Regions from separate parts of the Homo sapiens genome. Here region 2 is linked to region 1. The links are contacts of gene promoters, found by promoter capture Hi-C in human tissues and cell types (Jung and others, 2019). All regions are on one chromosome and are shown on one strand. The core of a region is centred on a gene start or on the middle of the fragment in contact, and the rest is flanking DNA. Distances in the headings are between cores, read along the strand shown.

What was found. The method cuts DNA at HindIII sites, captures the fragments that hold promoters and counts their contacts. A contact is called where the count stands out against the background at its distance.
Region 2: a fragment that was not itself captured here is called in contact with the fragment with the promoter of CHSY3 in region 1 in 1 of the 25 tissues and cell types used here (dorsolateral prefrontal cortex).

The regions. Positions count from the first base shown.
Region 1 is chr5:129,902,290-129,905,821 of GRCh38, reverse strand. It overlaps CHSY3 (chondroitin sulfate synthase 3), which reads right to left and starts at 1,357. Exons shown (of 3, transcript NM_175856.5): 1 at 191-1,357. The coding sequence starts at 992. The region is part of intron 1 of CHSY3-AS1 (CHSY3 antisense RNA 1); the gene reads left to right. RefSeq lists a silencer at 990-1,199. The HindIII fragment of the contact is 7,648 bases long and covers 1-3,532 here.
Region 2 is chr5:131,124,859-131,128,497 of GRCh38, reverse strand. No RefSeq gene overlaps it. Among named protein-coding and RNA genes, the nearest start is that of HINT1, 39 kb to the left of the region's middle. The HindIII fragment of the contact is 5,567 bases long and covers 1-3,639 here.

The sequences.
Region 1 (3,532 bases), core at 108-2,607:
GCAGAAGACGAGGAACGGGCTACGAATTGTGGGCGGATGCAAGGGGTGGGGAGGGCGGGCCAGGGCCTGTGGGAGCCCGAAGCACGTGCTGGCAGAGAAGCAGCGGAGGGGCTGGGCAGGGGCTAGGACCGGTTACAGAGAAAGGAGTCGGGGAGACTGGCAGGCTGGAAAGCCGGCGCAGGGAGGTCACCTTTGATGTAGACATCGTCGTCGGCGCGCATGAACCACTCATACTTGTCCAGGTAGTGGTCGTGCATGTACTTGATCATCATGAAGGACTTTTTCTGGGGAGGATAGGAGTCGTCCACACCCGGTAGCGCGATGACAGGCAGGGGTGGCGGGGGCTGGCCGGCGTTGGGGGGCTGCTGGCTGGAAAAGAACTCCACGCGGCCCGGGATGAAACGCGCCCAGGTCCGCTGCGCGGCCAGCGCGCGGCTGCCCAGGTACTTCTGCGCGGTCATCACCCCCACGTACAGGAAGTCCCGGGGTCGGGCGCTCGGGGCGGCAGCGCCCCCGTCCCCGCTGCCGTTGTGGCTACTCCCCGGCCGGCCGTCTCTCCGCTGCCCAGCCGCGCCCCCGTCCTCCTCCTCGGGCTCCCCCTCGGCCGCTGGAGCACCGGGAAGCCCCGTCGCGCCCTCAGGCTCGCGTCCTCGCCGCCGCTGCTGCAGCGGAGGTGGCTGCTGCCAGGGGCTGCTTCGAAAACTGGTGATCCCGGGTGCTGCCTCGGGCAGCGGTGGCCCCTGGAGATCCTGGCGCGCGGGGGGCGGCGACTGCTCCTGCCGTGGTCGGGACTGGGGCTGGGGGAGCGGCTGCTGAGCGCCGGCGCGGGGGCCAGCAGCAGAGCGACCGTAGTAGGAGCAGAGGCTGGAGCCACGTCTCTTCCTCTCGCTCAGCTCCGCCACCCTGGGGGCGATGAGCCAGGACGCGGCGGTGAAGCCCAGCACCAGCCCTAATGCCACGCTCATCCACGGGCGGCGAGAGCGCACAGCCATCGCGGCTGTCCCGGGCGCGGACGCTCGCTGGGCTGTCGCGGCGCGGCACGCGGTTTCCCCGGCTCACACCCGCCCCTCCTCCGCCTTTGCGCCCCCAGCCGCGGCCGCAGCCGGCCGCCTAGGCGCCGACACCGGCTGGAGGTCGAAGCGCCGCGGACGCCTCGACTGCCGCGGGCTGCAGCTGCCTGCCGGGCTCCCGCTCAGCTCTGGGCCGGGGCTCCGAGCAAGGGTCGGGAGTGAAACTTCTCCCGGCGGCGGCGGTGGCGGCAGCGGCGGCAGCAGCGGCAGCTGGAGGAGCTGCAGGAGGAGGAGGAGGAGCAGCGGCGGCGGCAACGCGTCCGCTCCTAGGCTGCCACCCTGTCAGTGGCGCGCCTGGGCCCTCCCTCCTCCCTCCTTCCCGAGCCCCCGCCCTCACTCCCGCCTCCCGCTCCCCCCGCCGCCGGGCTCCGAGCTGGCCCGGAGGAGGAGCCGCAGGCGGCACCGCTGCCAGCCGGAGAGAAGCGCGGGCCGCGGTATTTCCCCGTCACCCGCCCTTGGACGCCCCCCGTCCGCGCCTCAGTCCAGAGCCGGCCTCCTCTCCGGAAGGAAACGATCCCTGTCGGGCCGCCTCCGGCTTGCAGCGCCGACGCCCCCTCTTCCCTCCTCCCCCAGCTCTTGCTCTTCGTCCCATTTCCCGTCCCGTCCCGCCCCTCCGCTGGCCTCCCGACACTCGTGTCTGGGGGCTCTACTGGCCTCCTCCCGGCGCCTAGGCTCCGCTGACCTCATCGGCGGAGCTCGGGTCCGGGAGCCCCCAGCAAGTTCGTTGCTGTCCCACCGTGCTCTCCTCCCCCGGCCCACAGCCGGGTACGTCCTGGCGTGACCCTTACCACTCTGCCCCGCCCCAGGTCCGCCAGGGCGCCACTCTTCGCGTTTTCCGTCCTTTCCACGTTGTTCTTACCGCTGCCACTCCGCGCCTTCTCTCTCTAGTCGGTCACTTGTCAGGAAACCAAACGTCCCATCCCAGCACCTCTCCTCCCAGCCTAACTTCCCTCCTACCTGCATCGTCCACCAGCTCTCCTCAGTCCTTCACAGAAGCACCATTGTCGTTAGGGTCTCTCCTAAGAAAATCTCTGAGGGATTGGAAATACTTATCCTGAAAGGCTAAGGGAGTTGGTGGTGTGTGGGGGTTCAATCCCCAAAGAACGTAAAAATCCCATGTCCTCCACCTGTTGAGTTGGAAAATGTGGGGCTGCCTAATGGTCTCCCCCTCGGCTCTCCTGATGATATCTGTTCAAGAAATGAGAACTATGGTCTATTTTCAGTCTTGGTAGAAGATTGGCTCAGTGGGACTGGCAAATAGTGGAGAAATGGGCACACATTCACAGGGCCAATACCCTGAAGATCCAAACGAAAGAAATTCTTACCCCCACAAAATAAGTGAACTTAATCAAAAAATAAAATGGAGGATATGATTTTTATTCTTGCCTATGAACCGTTTTATTTTCTAAGGCAAAGACAGGAAAATTTTACCTCTCCAATGAGGGAGGAAAATTGTCCAGCAACAGAATCTCAAAAAAAGTTAAGCTGTATTGGCCAAAATCATTGTGCCTTAGTTACGTTAGGAAGAAATTACCTGAAGGTATATGATTTTTGAAGAAGGGAGCATTAACAAATTTCTCTCTAAAGGTTGTGCATAAAGCTATAGTCTGGGGTGCATTTGGCATCCCAAGTACTTCCTTCTCTTCAAATTTCAGTCTTCTGTTTTAGACATCAAACGCAAAGGGATGGTATTGAATGGCATTAGACATAATGGCTCGATCCAGCGAGGTGCTGGCAGCGTCCCTGGAACACTAGGCCTGCCTGGAGCCTTTGGAGGAATGGTTCTTTCCACACCGGTCCCTGGCTGTGCATGAGCACGTCTGACTAAATGTTTCATCTGCTGGACAATGAAGCTCCTTTTCCATGTCTAGGTTTTTCCCAGAGACACTTGGGAATACAGATTACTGGGCTCTCTCAAAGTTAAATTTTAGTTAGAATACAAAGCTAGTCAAACAGGCCCCTTCTGATTTTTAAATCGTCAAAGGCATTTTAAAATTTCTAGAATAGTACTATTCAATAGAACTTTCGCTATAATGGAAATTTTTTTTTATTTGTGCTGATAAGACAGTAGCCACATAAAATTATGGAGCATTGAAAGGTGACTAGTGTGATTGAAGAAATGAATTTTCATTTTATTTAATTTTAATTACTTTTTATTTAAATAGCCCCATGTGGCTAGGGGTTACCATGTAGGACAGCACATTTACAGAGGATTTCCTATTGCATATGGTCAACAGTAAAGGACAAATAAGTCCACCTACACACCAGTACCCTCTCCCCTGCAGTATTCAACTGGGCTTTATGGTAATGGATGCCATTCATATTGTTGATCTACAAAATCATTAATTCTCATTGGGCATAAATAACCCAATTCATCAACTGTTTGGAATATTTGGAGAGGAAGTTAATTTCATTCACTTATTCAACAAGTGTATATTAGAGATTAAACATTAGACAAGGTG
Region 2 (3,639 bases), core at 580-3,079, 1.2 Mb before region 1:
AATTTTCTCCCATTCTGTAGGTTGCCTGTTCACTCTGATGGTGGTTTCTTTTGCTGTGCAGAAGCTCTTTAGTTTAATTAGATCCCATTTATCAATTTTGGCTTTTGTTGCCATTGCTTTTGGTGTTTTAGTCATGAAGTCCTTGCCCATGCCTATGTCCTGAATGGTATTGCCTAGGTTTTCTTCTAGGGTTTTTATGGTTTTAGGTCTAACATTTAAGTCTTTAATCCATCTTGAGTTAATTTTTGTATAAGGTGTAAGGAAGGCATCCAGTTTCAGCTTTCTACATATGGCTAGCCAGTTTTCCCAGCACAATTTATTAAATAGGGACTCCTTTCCCCATTTCTTGTTTTTGTCAGGTTTGTCAAAGATCAGATGGTTGAAGATGTGTGGTATTATTTCTGAGGGCTCTGTTCTGTTCTATTGGTAGAACACTACCATGCTGTTTTGGTTACTGAAGCCTTGTAGTATAGTTTGAAGTCAGATAGCATGATGCCTCCAGCTTTTTTTTTTTTTTTTTTTTTTTTTTAAAGAGTGAGCAGCAGCAAAATTTATTGCAAAGAGTGAAAGAACAAAGCTTCCACCATGTGGAAAAGGACCTGAGTGGGTTGCCCGCTTTGTTCTTTTTGCTTAGGATTGTCTTGGCAATGCGGGGTCTTTTTTGGTTCCATATGAATTTTGAAGTAGTTTTTTCCAATTCTGTGAAGAAAGTCATTGGTAGCTTGATGGGGATGGCATTGAATCTATACATTACCTTGGGCAGTATGGCCATTTTCACGATATTGATTCTTCCTATCCATGAGAATGGAATGTTCTTCCATTTGTTTGTGGCCTCTTTTATTTCGTTGAGCAGTTGTTTGTAGTTCTCCTTGAAGAGGTCCTTGAAGAGGTCCTTCACATCCCTTGTAAGTTGGATTCCTAGGTATTTTATTCTCTTTGAAGCAATTGTGAATGGGACTTTCAGGCATTTCTATACAGCCTCTGAAATCTAGGTGGTGGTTACCAAACCTCAATTCTTGCCTTCTGTGTACCCGCAGGCTCAACGCCACATGCAATCTGTGAAGGTTTGGGGTTTGCACCTCTGAAGCCACAGCCCAAGCTCTATGTTGGCCCCTTTCAGCCATGGCTGGAGTGGCTGGGACACAGGGCACCAAGTCCCTATACTGCACTCAGCAGAGGGACCCTAGTCCTGGCCCACAGAAACCATTTTTAACTCCTAGGCCTCCAGGCCTGTGATGGGAAGGGCTGCTGTGAAGACCTCTGACATGCCCTGGAGATATTTTCCCCGTTGTCTTGGGGATGAACATTTGTCTTCTTGCTACTTATGCCAATTTCTGCAGCCAGCTTTAATTTCTCCTCAGAAAATGGGATTTTCTTATCTATCACATTATCAGGCTACAAATTTTCTGAACTTTTATGCTCTGCTTCCCTTATAAAACTGAATGCCTTTAACAGCACCCAAGTCACTTCTTGAATGCTTTGCTGCTTAGAAATTTCTTCTGCCAGATACCCTAAATCATTTCCCTCAAGTTGAAAGTCCCACAAATCTCTAGGGCAGGAGAAAAATGCCACCAGTCTCTTTCCTAAAACGTAACAAGTGTCGCCTTTGCTCCACTTCGCAAAAATTTCCTCATTTCCATCTGAGACCATCTTAGCCTGGACTTTATTGTCCATATCATTGTCGGCATTTTGGGCAAAGCCATTTGGGCAAAGGTATTAAAGGAACACACCTCAAAATTATAAGAGCCATATACAACAAACCCACAGCCAACATCATACTGAATGGGCAAAAGCTGGAAGCATTCGCCTTGAAAGCTGGCAAAAGGCAAGGCTGCCCTCTCTCACCACTCCTATTCAACACAGTATTGGAAGTCTCTAGGAAGTTCCAAACTTTGCCACATTTTTCTGTCTTCTTCTGAGCCCTCCAAGCTGTTCCAACCTCTGCCTGTTACCCAGTTCCAAAGTTGCTTCCACAGTTTCAGGTCTCTTTTCAGCAATGCTCCACCATAGTGGTAACAATTTACTGTATTATTTCATTTTCACACTGCTAATAAAGACATACCCAAGACTGGGCAATTGACATAAGAAAGATGTTTAATGGACTTATAGTTCTACATGGCTGGGGAGGCCTCACAATCATGGCAGAAGGTGAAAGCCATGTCTCACATGGCGGCAGCCAAGAGAAGAGACGGAAACTCCCATTTTTAAAACCATCAGCTCTCATGAGACTTATTCACGATCACGAAAACAGCACGGGAAAGATCCGCCCTCATGATTCAATTACCTCCGACTGGGTCCCTTCCACACACGTGGGAATTGTGGGAGTTACAATTCAAGATAAGATTTAGGTGGGGACACAGCCAAACCACATCAAGGTGTAAGGAAATGGTTCAGTTTCTATCTTCTGTATATGGATAGCCAGTTATCCCAGCACCATTTATTGAATAGGGAATCCTTTCCTAATTGCTTGTTTTTGTCAACTTTGTTGAAGATCTAATAGTTGTAGGTGGGTGGTCTTATTTCTGGGCTCTTTGTTCTGTTCCATTGGTCCATGTGTCCGTTTTTGTACCAGTACCATGCTGTTTTGGTTACTATAGTGTGTAATATAGTTTAAAGTTGGGTAGCATGATGCCTCCAGCTTTGTTCTTTTTGCTTAGGATTGCCTTGGCTATTTGGACCCTTTTTTAGTTCCATATGAATTTTGAAATGGTTTTTCTGTGAAGAATATCAGTGGTAGTTTAATAGGAATAGCATCGAATCTATAAGTTGCTTTAGGTAATATGGCTATTTTAACAATATTGATTCTTCCTATCCATGAGCATGACATTTTTTCCATTTGTTTGTGTCATCACTGATTTCTTTGAGCAGTGGTTTGTAGTTCTGCTTGTAGAGATCTTTCACTTCCCTAGTTAGCTGTATTCCTAGGTATTTTATTCTTTTTGTAGCAATTGTGAATGGGAGTTCATTCATGATTTGGCTCTTGGTTTGACTGTTGTTTGTATATAGGAATGCTAGTGATTTTTGCACATTGATTTTTGCATCCTGAGACTTTGCTGAAGTTGTTTATCAGCTTGAGGAGGTTTTGGGCTGAGACTATGGGGTTTTCTAGATATACGATCATGTCATCTGCAAACGAGGATAGCTTGACTTCCTCTCTTCTTATTTGGATGCCTTTATTTCTTTCTCTTGCCTGATTGCCCCAGCCAGGACTTCCAATGCTATGTTGAATAGGAGTGGTGAGAGAGGGCATCCTTGCCTTGTGCCAGCTTCAAGGTGAATGCTTCCAGCTTTTGCCCATTCAGTATGATGTTGGCTGTGGGTTTGTTGTATATGGCTCTTATTATTTTGAGGTGTGTTCCTTTAATACCTAGTTTATTGAGAATTGTTTTTAACATGAAGGGATGTTGACTTTTATTAAAGGCCTTTTCTGCATCCATTGAGATAATTGTGGTTTTTGTCTTTACTTCTGTTTATGTGATGAATCACATTTATTGTTGAACCAGCCTTGCATCCCAGGGATACAGCCTACTTGATTGTGGTGGATAAGCTTTTTGATGAGCCTAGTATATTTGACCATTTATTCAAAATAGATTTATTTTGATATTCTCACCACTTATTCTACCAATGTGTTATATCACC